Linked DNA regions of Homo sapiens: all the other regions are linked to region 3. The links are contacts of gene promoters, found by promoter capture Hi-C in blood cells and fetal thymus (Javierre and others, 2016). All regions are on one chromosome and are shown on one strand. Each heading gives the region's core, a stretch centred on a gene start or on the middle of the fragment in contact. The rest is flanking DNA. Distances are from core to core; before and after follow the strand shown.

What was found. Contacts are between HindIII fragments. The CHiCAGO score rates a contact against its expected background, and 5 or more counts as called.
Region 1: a fragment that was not itself captured here is called in contact with the fragment with the promoter of NUP107 in region 3 in 2 of 17 cell types (activated CD4 T cells and naive CD4 T cells); the score reaches 6.7 in activated CD4 T cells.
Region 2: a fragment that was not itself captured here is called in contact with the fragment with the promoter of NUP107 in region 3 in 16 of 17 cell types (total CD4 T cells, naive CD4 T cells, naive CD8 T cells and 13 more); the score reaches 22.5 in total CD4 T cells.

Annotation. Positions count from the first base shown.
Region 1 is chr12:68,188,056-68,192,179 of GRCh38, reverse strand. The region is part of intron 1 of LOC105369818 (a long non-coding RNA gene); the gene reads right to left. Among named protein-coding and RNA genes, the nearest start is that of IFNG, 30 kb to the right of the region's middle. The HindIII fragment of the contact is 1,833 bases long and covers 1,078-2,910 here.
Region 2 is chr12:68,351,160-68,355,077 of GRCh38, reverse strand. No RefSeq gene overlaps it. Among named protein-coding and RNA genes, the nearest start is that of MDM1, 21 kb to the right of the region's middle. The HindIII fragment of the contact is 6,840 bases long and covers 1-3,918 here.
Region 3 is chr12:68,684,098-68,688,684 of GRCh38, reverse strand. It overlaps NUP107 (nucleoporin 107), which reads right to left and starts at 1,707. Exons shown (of 28, transcript NM_020401.4): 1 at 1,612-1,707. The coding sequence starts at 1,619. LOC100507250 (a long non-coding RNA gene) reads left to right here and starts at 1,826. Exons shown (of 3, transcript NR_038930.1): 1 at 1,826-1,948; 2 at 2,668-2,822. It also overlaps the pseudogene RPL7P42. The HindIII fragment of the contact is 6,312 bases long and covers 1-4,587 here.

The sequences.
Region 1 (4,124 bases), core at 745-3,244, 500 kb after region 3:
TTCTGTGTGCCAGATTGTCCATCTGCTATGTCTTCTCTACTCTTTTATTTCAAGATAAATTATATATTTTCTTCATGATCTCCTCTGCTCTACTAAGTCTTGCATGGCCACTGTAGCCCACAATGAATATTCCCTTTTGGTTAATTTCCCAGTGTGATTGAAGATTACCTATAAATACATGCTGAGCTTTCTCTATGTACCTGATTTTGTGGAAACTATTTACGGTTCTGCTGTTTTATTCTGATATAGCTTTCCAAGTGTTTCCTCAAATTTTACTACATTGTGTATTTTACTCATTTAGCCAACAAAGATTTATTTGTTTTACTTATTAAGTGTCAGGCTCTGTCCTAAACGTTAAACAGGTGAACATACCATTCTTGATAGGGGGACACAGAAATAAACAAAGGAGTAAACATAAAGGATGTCAGAATAACAAGAACAAACAAGCAGGAGTGGGGGGGTTTCAGGGACTGGGGAAGGGCGGGGACTGGTTTGCTCTTAAAAAAAAGGCTGATCAGAGCTGGGCACAGTGGCTCATTCCTGTAATCCCAGCACTTTGGGAGGCTGAGGTGGGTGGATCACGAGGTCAGGAGATTGAGACCATCCTGGCTAACACTGTGAAACCCTGTCTCTACTAAAAATACAAAAAAATTAGCCGGGTGTGGTGGCAGGCACCTGTAGTCCCAGCTACTTGGGAGGCTGAGGCAGGAGAATGGCGTGAATCTGGGAGGCGGAGCTTGCAGTGAGCTGAGATCACACCACTGCACTACAGCCTGGGTGATAGAGGAGACTCTGTCTCCGAAAAAAAAAAAAAAAAGGGCTGGTCAGGAAAAAGCTCACCAATGAGGTGACATTTTTGCACAGACCTGAAGGATCCTTACAATGACTAAGGAGTAGAGAGTAAAAAGATTATTGATTTTGGTTTTGTAATTTATGTGGATGTAGAAACAGGCTTGGGGATGTTAAATATTTTTAGTAGCATCACATAATTATCATGAAAGAAGTTAAAGCCATGATCTAGAAGATTTTACAATTCTCTGATTCACCTGTTGTGCCTTATTTTCTCTCAGGTAAGCTTCTTAGTTATCTGGTTACTTTTAACAAATGGCAGAAACAACTTCTTAACTATGGAAGATTATGTTCTTTTGATTTACCAAATTATTTATCCATATATGCAGAGAATATATTTTCTGAATGAAAAATTGGGCAGCAAACTCTGAAAAGTTCTAACATGCTCAGAGGGACAATGGGACCACATAATTGAAGTTGGCACCAAACCATGAATATCTGGTCATCATAATAATATAGATGCCTTGGACATAACAGCAAGCACTAACCACAAAGTAATGGTGTACTTTGCCCATAAGAAAGAAACAAATGTGTGACTGAAATCAGCTTTTCTCACTCTATTGCATGGAATATATAGTATTTCCTCAACATATTAGTTTTCCTGTTTTAAACTTACAAAAGTGTTTTCTTATTTAACAAGTTTAAGAAAATGGTGCAAACTATATTTTCTGTATGGGGAATTATAAAGCCCATCAGAATGTTACAGGTTGGAGAAGTTCCACATTAAAACAACTCTTTAACTTTGTTTAATATGAGTTTCTAGAAGATTGTTTCTTCCAAGAATACATTGGCCTTGTAGGCACTTAGTCAGATCAAATGCCTTGTTACCTAGAAAACAGTTTGGAAAACACCAGTTCACACAAATGGTTATCTTGAGATGAAGCAGAGCTAGAAAAGTGTATTATTAATGAAGAAGAAGAAAAACAACAACTACTGGATTTCTCTTCAAAGAATAAGAAAAACATTTAAGGAAGCAAAATGCTGATATGATAAATATGTTTGGAGGAGATTAGAAGAGATTTTAATAAGTATATATAGATAATAATTTTTATGTTTGCTATTTGTATTTATTGAAACAAAGTGAATGTCGTAAGTGTGAAATGCACTGAAGAGACATCTCAGATTGCTGCTTCCTGCTCACCTCATCTACTGAAAAAACATGGTGTGTCACCACAGTGACTTGCCTTTACCCACAAGTGAGGAACTCAGTTTTATTTCCTAGATAAAATGGAAGTGCCAACGATATTCACTTTTTTTCTGTTCATCTGTAACATCTTGGGAATGACCAATGACACTTTCCTACTGAGAAAGAAAACTTTTCATGGTAGTAGTAACCACAGATTTGGATGATGACTCACATTATTACATTAGTAACATCTTTTGTTCTATACTCCACACAAGGAAAAAAGTGCTGAATGCAAAACCACAACTTCAGCTGTCGGTGGAAATGATAGTTAATGGTGCTTTGCTGCTACGCTGGGGGCCAATTCTTGGTAGAGAGGATTATCTTGAATGTGGTTTCTAAATCAATAGATAAGTATGAATTGTGGCACAAATTATATAATATAATTGATTATCATACTTTTAAAATAGATTGAATCTTTTTTGTAAGAGAAATCTGGTTGTAAATTATATTAAAAATAAAATTTTATCAATAAATATATATGTAGATATATATAAGTTATAAACAACTCAGAAGGCCCCTAGATATGGAATCAATTAATGCTTTCTATAAGTTATTTCAAAGGCTAACTCTAAATTATAGTGGGAATAATTTTGGGCTTCAGAGTATGAATTTGGAAATCCTAAAGCCTATATTGGAGAGTTATGATAATCAAAATGGCCAAGACAAGTCCTAGGAGACAATAGCATTTAGTTGAGTGCCTTTAAGAAAATCTAGATTTGTCAAGTAGCTGGTCAATTTTCACAAACATAGCTGAAACAAAATATATTTCAGAATAACATAGGCTTTCTGTGACCATTTCTACACTTGTAAAGTTCAATGTCTAAAAATGTTGGGATGACGTTTTTTTCCCCTCAAGTATCACTTAAAAGAAAGCTTTTAGGCATATAATTCACTTAGATTTTTAATTTATCAATAGTTTCTAAAATAATCTTCTCTGAGAGTGTTGTCAAGGTAAATTCTAAAATGTATTGTTTTAAATTTGTCATGTAACAGGACATTTTACTTCAGAGCTCACAATTGGTGACCATAATATAAAATGTAAAAGAAAAATAAATCCTTTACTACTATTCTGTAATGTGAATTTATTAGTGTCACCACTGAAGCAGCTACAGATAATGATGCTGCCAACAGAAATTTTAGGTGGATTGTGATAAGCATTTCGAAGCAAGTTTTGCCTATTTTCCATAAGCAAATTTCCCGATTAATAAATCAATACTCCTTTAAGTGGCCCATTCTTTCCTTTTTGGATAATGATTTTGAAAGAGAGCTTTCTAAGACATATTACATAGGTTCCTCTTACAATAAGTTTATTCTACGTCTCTAAACTTCAGTTTCCTCCTCACTGAAACGAATACTTTCAATTCAGAGACTCCTAAATTCCCTCCTAGCTCTCATATTTCCTCCTGGCTATAGGCATGTTGGTGTGTGAGCATGGGTCATATTCACTTCTTCCTTTCTGTGTGTGGTTTCTCTTTCTTAGGAGCCCTTCTTCCGATGGCCTCATCTGTTGGTATTCATGCAGACTTGGGCATCCTCTTCCCCAGGTTTCCTGAAGGAGCCCAGAGCTCTTATTCCTCTGGGAAATAGGACCATCGCTCCCTCAACCTCCTGCTAACCACAGGCAGGATTGAAGAAGGGACCCGTAATTTTGTGTCCCTGGTAGGATCTTCAATGTTCACAGCCTCCCCATGACTCTCAGCTTTGAGACTACCAAGGATAATCCCGTGATGCTCTTTATGCTTGTTTAGGACGGAGGGCCCAAGAAGCCCAGGACATCCAGGTGACCCCTCCGTCCCAAGGCTTTCATTTCCGTGATGGCACTGCACTTCCTTTTCCCTCACTTCATCTTCCACCTATCTCCAGCTTCTGAAACCCTTTCAGTGTGTCCCCTGAACTCACTGTCAGTCACCAGCAAGATCCCTTATATCTTTAACATTTTCTCTGAACTTTGCTTTCTTACTGTAACTGACCAGACTGTCCCTTGGAGACCTGGTTCCTTTGCAGATTTCTCTAGATGCATCTGTTTTCTTTCCCTTTTCTTTTGCACCCTGGGCATGTAGGTGGAGGTCGTTTAAGTACCATTCTTGTG
Region 2 (3,918 bases), core at 874-3,373, 330 kb after region 3:
AGTGTGGCTGTGAAGTGGGTACCCTGGGTACAAGTATCCCTGTCTTTAGAATCTGTGTACCTAGTGTGGCTCTAACTCCAGTTAAGGGCCCAGTTAAAGTGGGCCTGGATGTCTCATGAAGTCCTGGATGGCCCCCAGTTCAGAGGACCCAGTACTGAAGGTGCCACCTTTACTTAGCTCCTGATCTGGGCTGGATGTGAAGGCCTCTGAGCTGACTTCTGACTCTGGCTCACCTCCCGATGCTTATATGCCCCTCCCTGCCCTTGCCAAATGATCTCCCTCTCCCTGCAGGTTCTCACACCAAATACAAACCTGAAGATGAAATAAGTCATTGCTGTGCACTGCTGAACCCCAGCCTATGCAGGTGACAGATGACTGATGCCAGCCCAGCTAAAGCCTCACTTCATTCTTGTGATTTTGTGGGCACAAAAGAACTTGAATGAGTTGAACCTAAAGTTAAAACTAAACCAGAAGACAGTAAGCCATTTGCTCAGCAGCCTCTATAGCAATCGCTCTTATAGAATAAGGGACAGGGGAATGACAGTGGCCCCCATGGCTCCCAGTGGCTCGTGCTTCTTCGGCATTTCCTACATTTCCCTTCCATCTTCCTCACTGGAATGACACTTGCAACCCTCCAAGCCAGGGCACTATATTAAGTGCTGTACATACAGTACTTCACTGCATACATACAGTAATACTATTATTATTGTGTTATTATTATTATTGCGTTTTTGCAGATGATGAAACAGAGGTCCTATAAGCATTTCGTAGCTCTGGTGCTGAGCTCAGGACTTAATGTATATCAAGGGCTCCATAGTGTTTATTAAACTGGAATTTGACTGGTTCTAAGGAGTTAGTCTTATCGTGATAAAAACTCTGGACTTGGGGATGAGGCAAGTGCTTTTTTTTTTTTTGAGGCAAAGTCTTGCTCTGTTGCCCAGACTCGAGTGCAGTGGCATGATCTCGGCTCACTTCAACTTCCGCCTCCCAGGTTCAAGCAATTCTCCTGTCTCAGCCTCCCGAGTAGCTGGGACTACAGGTGCATGCCACCACACCTGGCTAATTTTTGTATTTTTTTTTTTTGAGATGGAGTCTTGCTCTGTCACCCAGGCTGGAGTGCAGTGGCACAGTCTTGGCTCACTGCAACCTCCACCTTCCGGGTTCAAGCAATTCTTCTGCTTCAGCCTCCTGAGCAGCTGGGACTACAGGCATGTGCCACCATGCCTGGCTAACTTTTGTATTTTTATTAGAGACGGAGTTTCACCATACTGGCCAGGCTGGTCTCAAACTCTCGACCTCAGGTGATCCACCTGCCTTAGCCTCCCAAAGTGCTGGGATTACAGGTGTGAACCAGCGCGCCCGGCCGGCAAGTGTCTTCTTTAAGAATATGGAGATATTGACTTATCATCATTAGTCTCTAGGATTTCTGTGGGGGCTACTTTTCTGTCTTTGATTCCACAACCAGGTCAGTCTTCCTGGTTGACTATATAGCTGCTTGACTATAAAGCGGTTGAAAAAATTCCCTGTGATTACTTGATTATGCTCAGATTTGTTAGATTCTATTTCAGTAGAATATGTTGATATGAATTTGCCAACATGTTGATAGGTATAACTTGTAAAGAGGGCTGTCTGGTTCAATATTGGCTTAAAGCAGGGAAGAGGGTTTCTTTACTGCAGGGCTTCCTTGCACCTTTAATATGTTAATATGCATTGGTGATCTCTTAAAGGGGGAATAAATATTTCATCAATTCTAAGTAGCACTTCCCTCTGTACTTTATTATCTCTGAGGTAGGATGCTTCTTACAGTCAGTGGTATCTTATAGCAGTTGTTGGTCAGGCAGCAGTTTTGCCATGGTTGTCATTGCCTGGGTACATGCGATGTTGGCCATAGCTATTTTTGTTGTCACATCAGCTGAGTTAGGTATATTCCTAGCACAGCATAGAATGATGTTTCATTGCTCTTTAAAGTATCTTCATAAAGATCACACCATGAATTGGTATTGACATGAAAAGTTACTGTATATGTCAAAAGGTATGGAAACAGAGCAGTCGGGTATATACAAGATCTTAGAGCAGCAGAAGCTCATCATTGTAGGTTAACTACATGTCTTAGTCTATTTGAGCTGCTATAGCAAAATGCCACAAACCGAGTAGCTTACAAGCAACAGAAATTTATTTCTCGAAGTTCTGGAGGCTAGAACATCCAGGGTGAAGGCTCTGGCAGATTCAGAGTCTGGTAAGGGGATACACTTTCTGGTTCATGGATGGTGCTTTCTCACCATGTCTTCTCATGGTGGAAGCGTCAATGAGATTCTCTCAGGCCTTTTTGCTGTTGTTGTTAAAGTGAAAACAAGTTTATTAGGAAAGTAAAGAAACAAAAGAATGGCTATTCTATAGGCAGAGTAGCCACATGGGCTGCTTATAGTTATTTCTCGATTATATGCTAAACAAAGGGTGGGTTATCACGAGTTTCCTAGGAAAAGGGTAGGCAATTCCCTGAACTGAGGGTTCCTGTTCCTCCCCTTTTTAGGCCATACAGGTTAACTTCCTGACATTGCCATGGCATTTGTAAACTGTCATGGCACTGGCGGAGTGTCTTTCAGCTTGCTAATGCATTATAATTAGCATATAATGAGCAGTGAGGATGACTAGAGGTCACTTCCATCCCCATCTTGGTTTCAGTGGGTTTTGGCCAGCTTCTTTTCCTCAACCTGTTTAATCAGCAGGGTCTTTGTGACCTGTATCTTGTGCCAAACTCCTATCTCATCCTGTGACTAAGAATGTCTAATCTCCTGGGAATGGAGCCAAGTCGGTCTCATCCTTATTTTACCCAGCTCCTATTCAAGATGGAGTTGCTCTGGTTCAAATGCCTCTGACATGTTTTCCCCTCCCTTTTTACAAGGGGACCCTTAATCCTAACGGTTACAGAGGGATGAAGAGTCACCCTCTGTAACTTCTTCAGGCTGAATAGGGGCTGAATATTCCTGTCTCAGGCATTTTTTAATGTGCACTAATCCCACTCATAAAGGCTCTGTCCTCAGGACCTAATCACTTCCCAAAGGCCCCACCTCCTGTTACCATCACCTTGGGGGTTAGGATTTCAATGTATGAATTTTAGGAGGACAAACATCTAGCCCACAGCACTACAGTTCCTTATCTTCTTGCAAAGCAATAACCAAATGCTTGATAGAACTTAAGAAAGGAAGATACCCAGTAGCTAGGGCTATATTTGTTACCGAGGTAGGCGCACAAGGAGTGGCTACCACTCACCAAGGGAGCAACACAACTGAAACCAGGAAAATCGCCAAATCCCTGGGGAAAGCATTGTGTCCTAATTTAATTGGCATTGCTTTTTCTTTCCTAGTGGTATGTAATCAATAACTTTGTAGATTTGATGACATATGTTAGTGTGAAGCGTTTTCAATCTTATTTGACCACAGGCTCTTGTTTCCCTAGAAACATCTCTTGGAACTACTGTTCTGTAGAATTGAATAATGATAATATTTAATACTTACAATTAGCCAGTCAGTATTTACATTTTTCACCTATATTAACTAAATTAATTCTCACTACCATCTCATGAAATAGGCACTATTGGCCGGGCGCAGTGGCTCAAGCCTGTAATCCCAGCACTTTGGGGGACTGAGGTGGGTGGATCACCTGAGGTCGGGAGTTCGAGACCAGCCTGACCAACATGGAGAAACCCCGTCTCTACTAAAAATACAAAAAAAAATTAGCCAGGCATGGTGGCGCATGCCTGTAATCTCAGCTACTCGGGAGGCTGAGGCAGGAGAATTGCTTGAACCTGGGAGGCAGAGGTTGTGGTGAGCCGAGATCGTGCCGTTGCACTCCAGCCTGGGCAACAAGACGGAGTGAAACTCCATCTCAAAAGACAAAAACAGAAACAAATACAAACAA
Region 3 (4,587 bases), core at 458-2,957:
ATATTATAACACTGTTTTAGATAATTGCTTCATGAAAGTGAATCTTATTTCCCTTGTTGGATTGAGGAGTTACCTAACTGCAGGAATTCTCTCTTAAAAGATTTTCTGCAGTCTCCAAAATGCTTTAAACCATGGGTACTATTAAAAAACAAACAAACAACAACAACAACAAACAGAGCTTGCAACAACAACAACAAACAGAGCTTGTGAGATAGAAGGGTAAGTAAAAGAATTGTGGTAAATTGGAGCAAAATGACCCTTCAAGTTATTTCAACCCAGGAGGTCTCCTGTCCCATCACAACACTCCCTGTCAGTTTCACTCAAAGGTCTAGAAACTAAATTGTGCGGACTAAAAGGCCTGTGTTTAAGACAAGAATCTAATATGCTTTTCCTCCACTTAAAACCTTCAGATATTCCTTCAGCAGGAAAGTATGGGAAACAACCACATAGAAACAATTTTAAACGTTTAACAATTAAAATTAAAAACAAAAAAAAAAACCTTCAGATAGCTCTCTGGTCTATAGAAGTAAAAATTTCCTAAAATGATATTTACAATGTGACCCCAGTTTAGGGGTTCAGTCTTCTATTCAGCCACAAACATCACTTTAAACGTATACTGCATGTGACCACTGAGCTACACGTACTTTTTTTTCATATCCTAGCACCTCTGAATATGCTTCTTTTACAAAGACCTACATTTGCCCCCTTGAGCACCTGGTCAACAACTACTTACTCCTCAAAGAGCCTCAGGTAGGCTGGAGACACACAGATGCAGGTTGGCAATTTGGTTCTTGTATTTATTAGCTTCCGAACTTTCAGCAAGTTCCTTAACCTCTTTTAGTCTCAGTGTTATATATGAAAAAAGGATAACAGTACCCATCTCATAGGATTTTTCTTGTTCTGAAGATTAAATAAGCTAATAATATATATTCAACGCCTTTAGAACAATGGCAGTCACATAGTAGGTACTCAATGTTTGGAGTACGAATAATGTACTCTTATTATTCAAAGACCAGCTAGAAAGTTACCTTCTTTGAGGGGTCTTCCTGATAGTTACAGTGACAAGGAGACTTAATCGCCCCCAAACACTTACCACTTTACACTGCTTGGTTGTCTCCATTACACAACTAATTCCCCGAGGGGAAGGATCTTGAATAACTGATCTTTGTTGTAGGCGGCTAGCACAGTACCCAGATCATAGAGGGAACTCAGAATCTGATGCTGGCACTTGTAATCAGAAAGTCTGGGCTGAGATCCCAGTATCTTCACTGACTGGCTTTGTGATCTCAGGCTGGTCACTTAGCATTTCGAACGCCGCGCTACCTACCCCGCCCACCCCAGGAGCGAACAGTGTTGCTGCCCCAAAGCGCCGAATAGATCGCAGAACGTAGTGGGAAAGTAAGGGACTATTATGATCTGTACCCCACCCCGACGCACGCCAAGCGGCTTTTTCCCCATTTGTGGCCAAATTTCCCGGCATGGGGAAGGAGCCTTAGGGGAAGCACCCGGGACCTCCTTGGCTTCTTCTGGGAGTCTAGTTTCACCTATTTCGTTTCGCCAACAGGCGAGACGGGCAAGACTTCGGGCTCAGCTGCCACCATCAGTACTGACCTGTCCATGGCTAAAGCCTTTTCCACACACAACCAAAGTTGGCTGCAGTTTAGCTACCGCGTTTTAGCCTTCCCGCTCTCCGGAAGCAAGCCCTTCGACCCGGAAGCAGTCTGTCCCTAAAACAGACCCACAGAAAAGGGGTAGGGGAGAAGAAACAACGTTCCCATCTAGCGCATGCGCGACTTCAGCCTACAGGTGCACGCCCGGTGGGCGCAGGCGCAAAAGTTTGCCAATGTGTTCCTGGTTGCGTTTAGCCCAGACGCCCTGCGGCCGCTTTGCCTGACCAAAGTCTGTGGGCGTGGAACAGGCCCTGGGTTCTCCTACTGGGAAGAATGAAGTATGTTGATAGTCTGGAAAAATGTGAAGTCATTTCCTGGTATTCTCTGTCAGAAAGCGCCTGTTCTTGGAATTCAGATGCGTGGGCTCTGCCCCACACCTCGGGGATCTCTATCTCTCTGCCTACACTCAGTCCTTTGTTCTGTAGCCCCCTGCAGTTTTTGCAACTATTTTCCATAACTGCTATTTGTTCTTTACTTGGTGTTCTTTCCTATTAAGGAGAAAAAGTTCACCTGTATTAAAAAGTAGAAAGGCAAGCGTGAAATATGATGGTATTGCCCTCTATTTCAAAGTGCCGTCTAGGCAAAAAGTGGTGTATTTTGGTCTTGAAGGAGTCAGTCACATTTTTGTTTTGGTTTTTGTTTTTTCCAGTTTGAAAGTAGTGACTGGCTATTAACTGACCAGATTACAAAAATAATGTTAGATGCTTCAGTTTATCCGTTTAATAAGCCTGTTGATATAGTCTTTTCTGTTGCTGGCATTTATACCTTTTATTAATACAAAATAGGTAGTCCTTCATTCTCCCTCGTGGAGAAGATAATTTGAAGGATCACAGGAACTTGAGTTTTTCAACAGCATAGATCTCATGAATCAGATTCTCCAGTCAGATGATGCCATATTTATCAGGAAATCTAGCAATCAAAGCGTTATCTGTTAAGGTAATTTGTTTATTGATTTTGCCATAACCAATTTGTAGATCAGTTCATTTACTGATTTCAGGTTCAGGTACTCCATGTGATATATGGTTCCACAATCCTCAGCGTGTTAACTGAAGCCTTGTTGAGTTTAACAAAGCTGCCATTGAAGATCTGGGGAAAGTGAAGAAGTTGCAACAGAGTTTTGGGCTCACACCATTGATACATTTGATCCTTAAGGCAAGTGACAATTTGGGTTTCACAGGTATATAGAAATTGCCAGCTTTTCTTGCCATATATTTCTTGTGACAGTGCTGAGCTTTTTTTTTTTACTTCTTGCTTGCTTTTTTTTGGACTTGATTTTTTAAATTATGTTTCCTTCCTTCCTTCTTTCTTTGTTTTTTTTTTTTTTGAGACAGGATCTTGTCCTATTGTCCCGGCTTACGTGCAGTGGCACAGTCACGGCTCACTGCAGCCTTGACCTCCTGGGCTCCAGCAATCCTCCTACCTCAGCCTCCCTAGTACCTGAGGTTGCTGGGACCACAGGCACGCACCACCATGCCTGACCTCCTCTCCTCCCCCGTTTTTTAAAAATATTTTGGAGAAATGGGGTCTTATGTTGTTGCCCAGGCTGGTCTCAAACTCTTGGGCTCAAGCCATCCTCTTACCTGGGTCTCCCAAAGTGCTGGGATTACAGGGGTTAGCCACCACATCTGACAGTGCCTAGCTTTTTCATAGATGTAGCTTTCTCCTTGCTTTTCTTTTTCTTTTTTTTCGAGATGGAGTCTCATTCCATTGCCCAGGCTGGAGTGCAGTGGTGCCATCTCGGCTCACTGCAACCTCTGCCTCCTGGGTTCAAGCGATTCTCCTGCCTCAGCCTCCTGAGTAGCTGGGATTACAGGTGTCTGCCACCACACCCGGCTAATTTTTGCGTTTTTGGTAGAGATGGGGTTTCACCATGTTGTCCAGGCTGGTCTTGAACTCCTGACCTCAGGTGATTCACCTGCCTCAGCCTCCCAAAGTGCTGGGATTACAGGCGTGAGCCACTGCGCCTGGCCTTCTCCTTTCTTTTCAAAGCATTTTATGGGCAAACTTCTTTCTCAGGCACTTGACCTTTAGCTCTGTGAAATTCCTTCATGTGTTTTATTTTTATTTTTTGAGACAGAGTCTTGCCCTTTTGCCCAGGCTGGAGTGCAGTGATGCAATCTTGGCTCACTGAAACCTCTGCCTCCCCGGTTCAAGCGATTCTTGTACATCAGCCTCCCAAGTAGCTGGGATTACAGGCGTGCACCACCATGCCCAGCTAATTTTTGTATTTTTAGTAGAGGCGGGGTTTCACCATGCTGGCCAGGCTGGTCTCGAACTCCTGACCTCATGATCCACCCGCCTCGGCCTCCCAAAGTGCTGGGATTACAGGCATGAACCACAGTGCCCAGCCTTCCCTCACATTTTTAAAGGGTTTCTGGCACAGCAGGAATCTTCTTTTTCTTGTCTTCAATACCCTCCATGGTTTCAGCTGGGAAAGAGGAAATCAGTGGAAGTTTTGCCTTAGGCATTTATGTTCTGCTGTAATTCTGGGAAGCATAGTTCCCCGGAAGGCCTCTTCATACCTTATTATCCCCTCTCAGACAACATGGCATTTTGATAAAAACATTGCTTTGGGCTCCATCTAGGTTCAACCCCCCTGCACCTGCAGATTCCTCATCTGTAGAGTGGAGAAAACAATACCTTTGTCAGGGGGTGTTGTGAGGATTAAACAAGATGTCATAGGGAGTCCCTGTCTCTAACATAAGTTTTAAAAATTAGCCACGTGTGGTGACACGTGCCTGTGGTCCCAGCTACTTGGGAGGCTGAGGCAGGAGGATCACTTGATCCTGGCAGGCCGAGGCTGCAATGAGCTATGATCATGCCACTGCACTCCAGCCTGGATGAAAAAGTGAGACTTTGTCTCAAAAAAACAAAACAGACAAACAAAAAAAACAGAGACATCAACTGTATACACTGT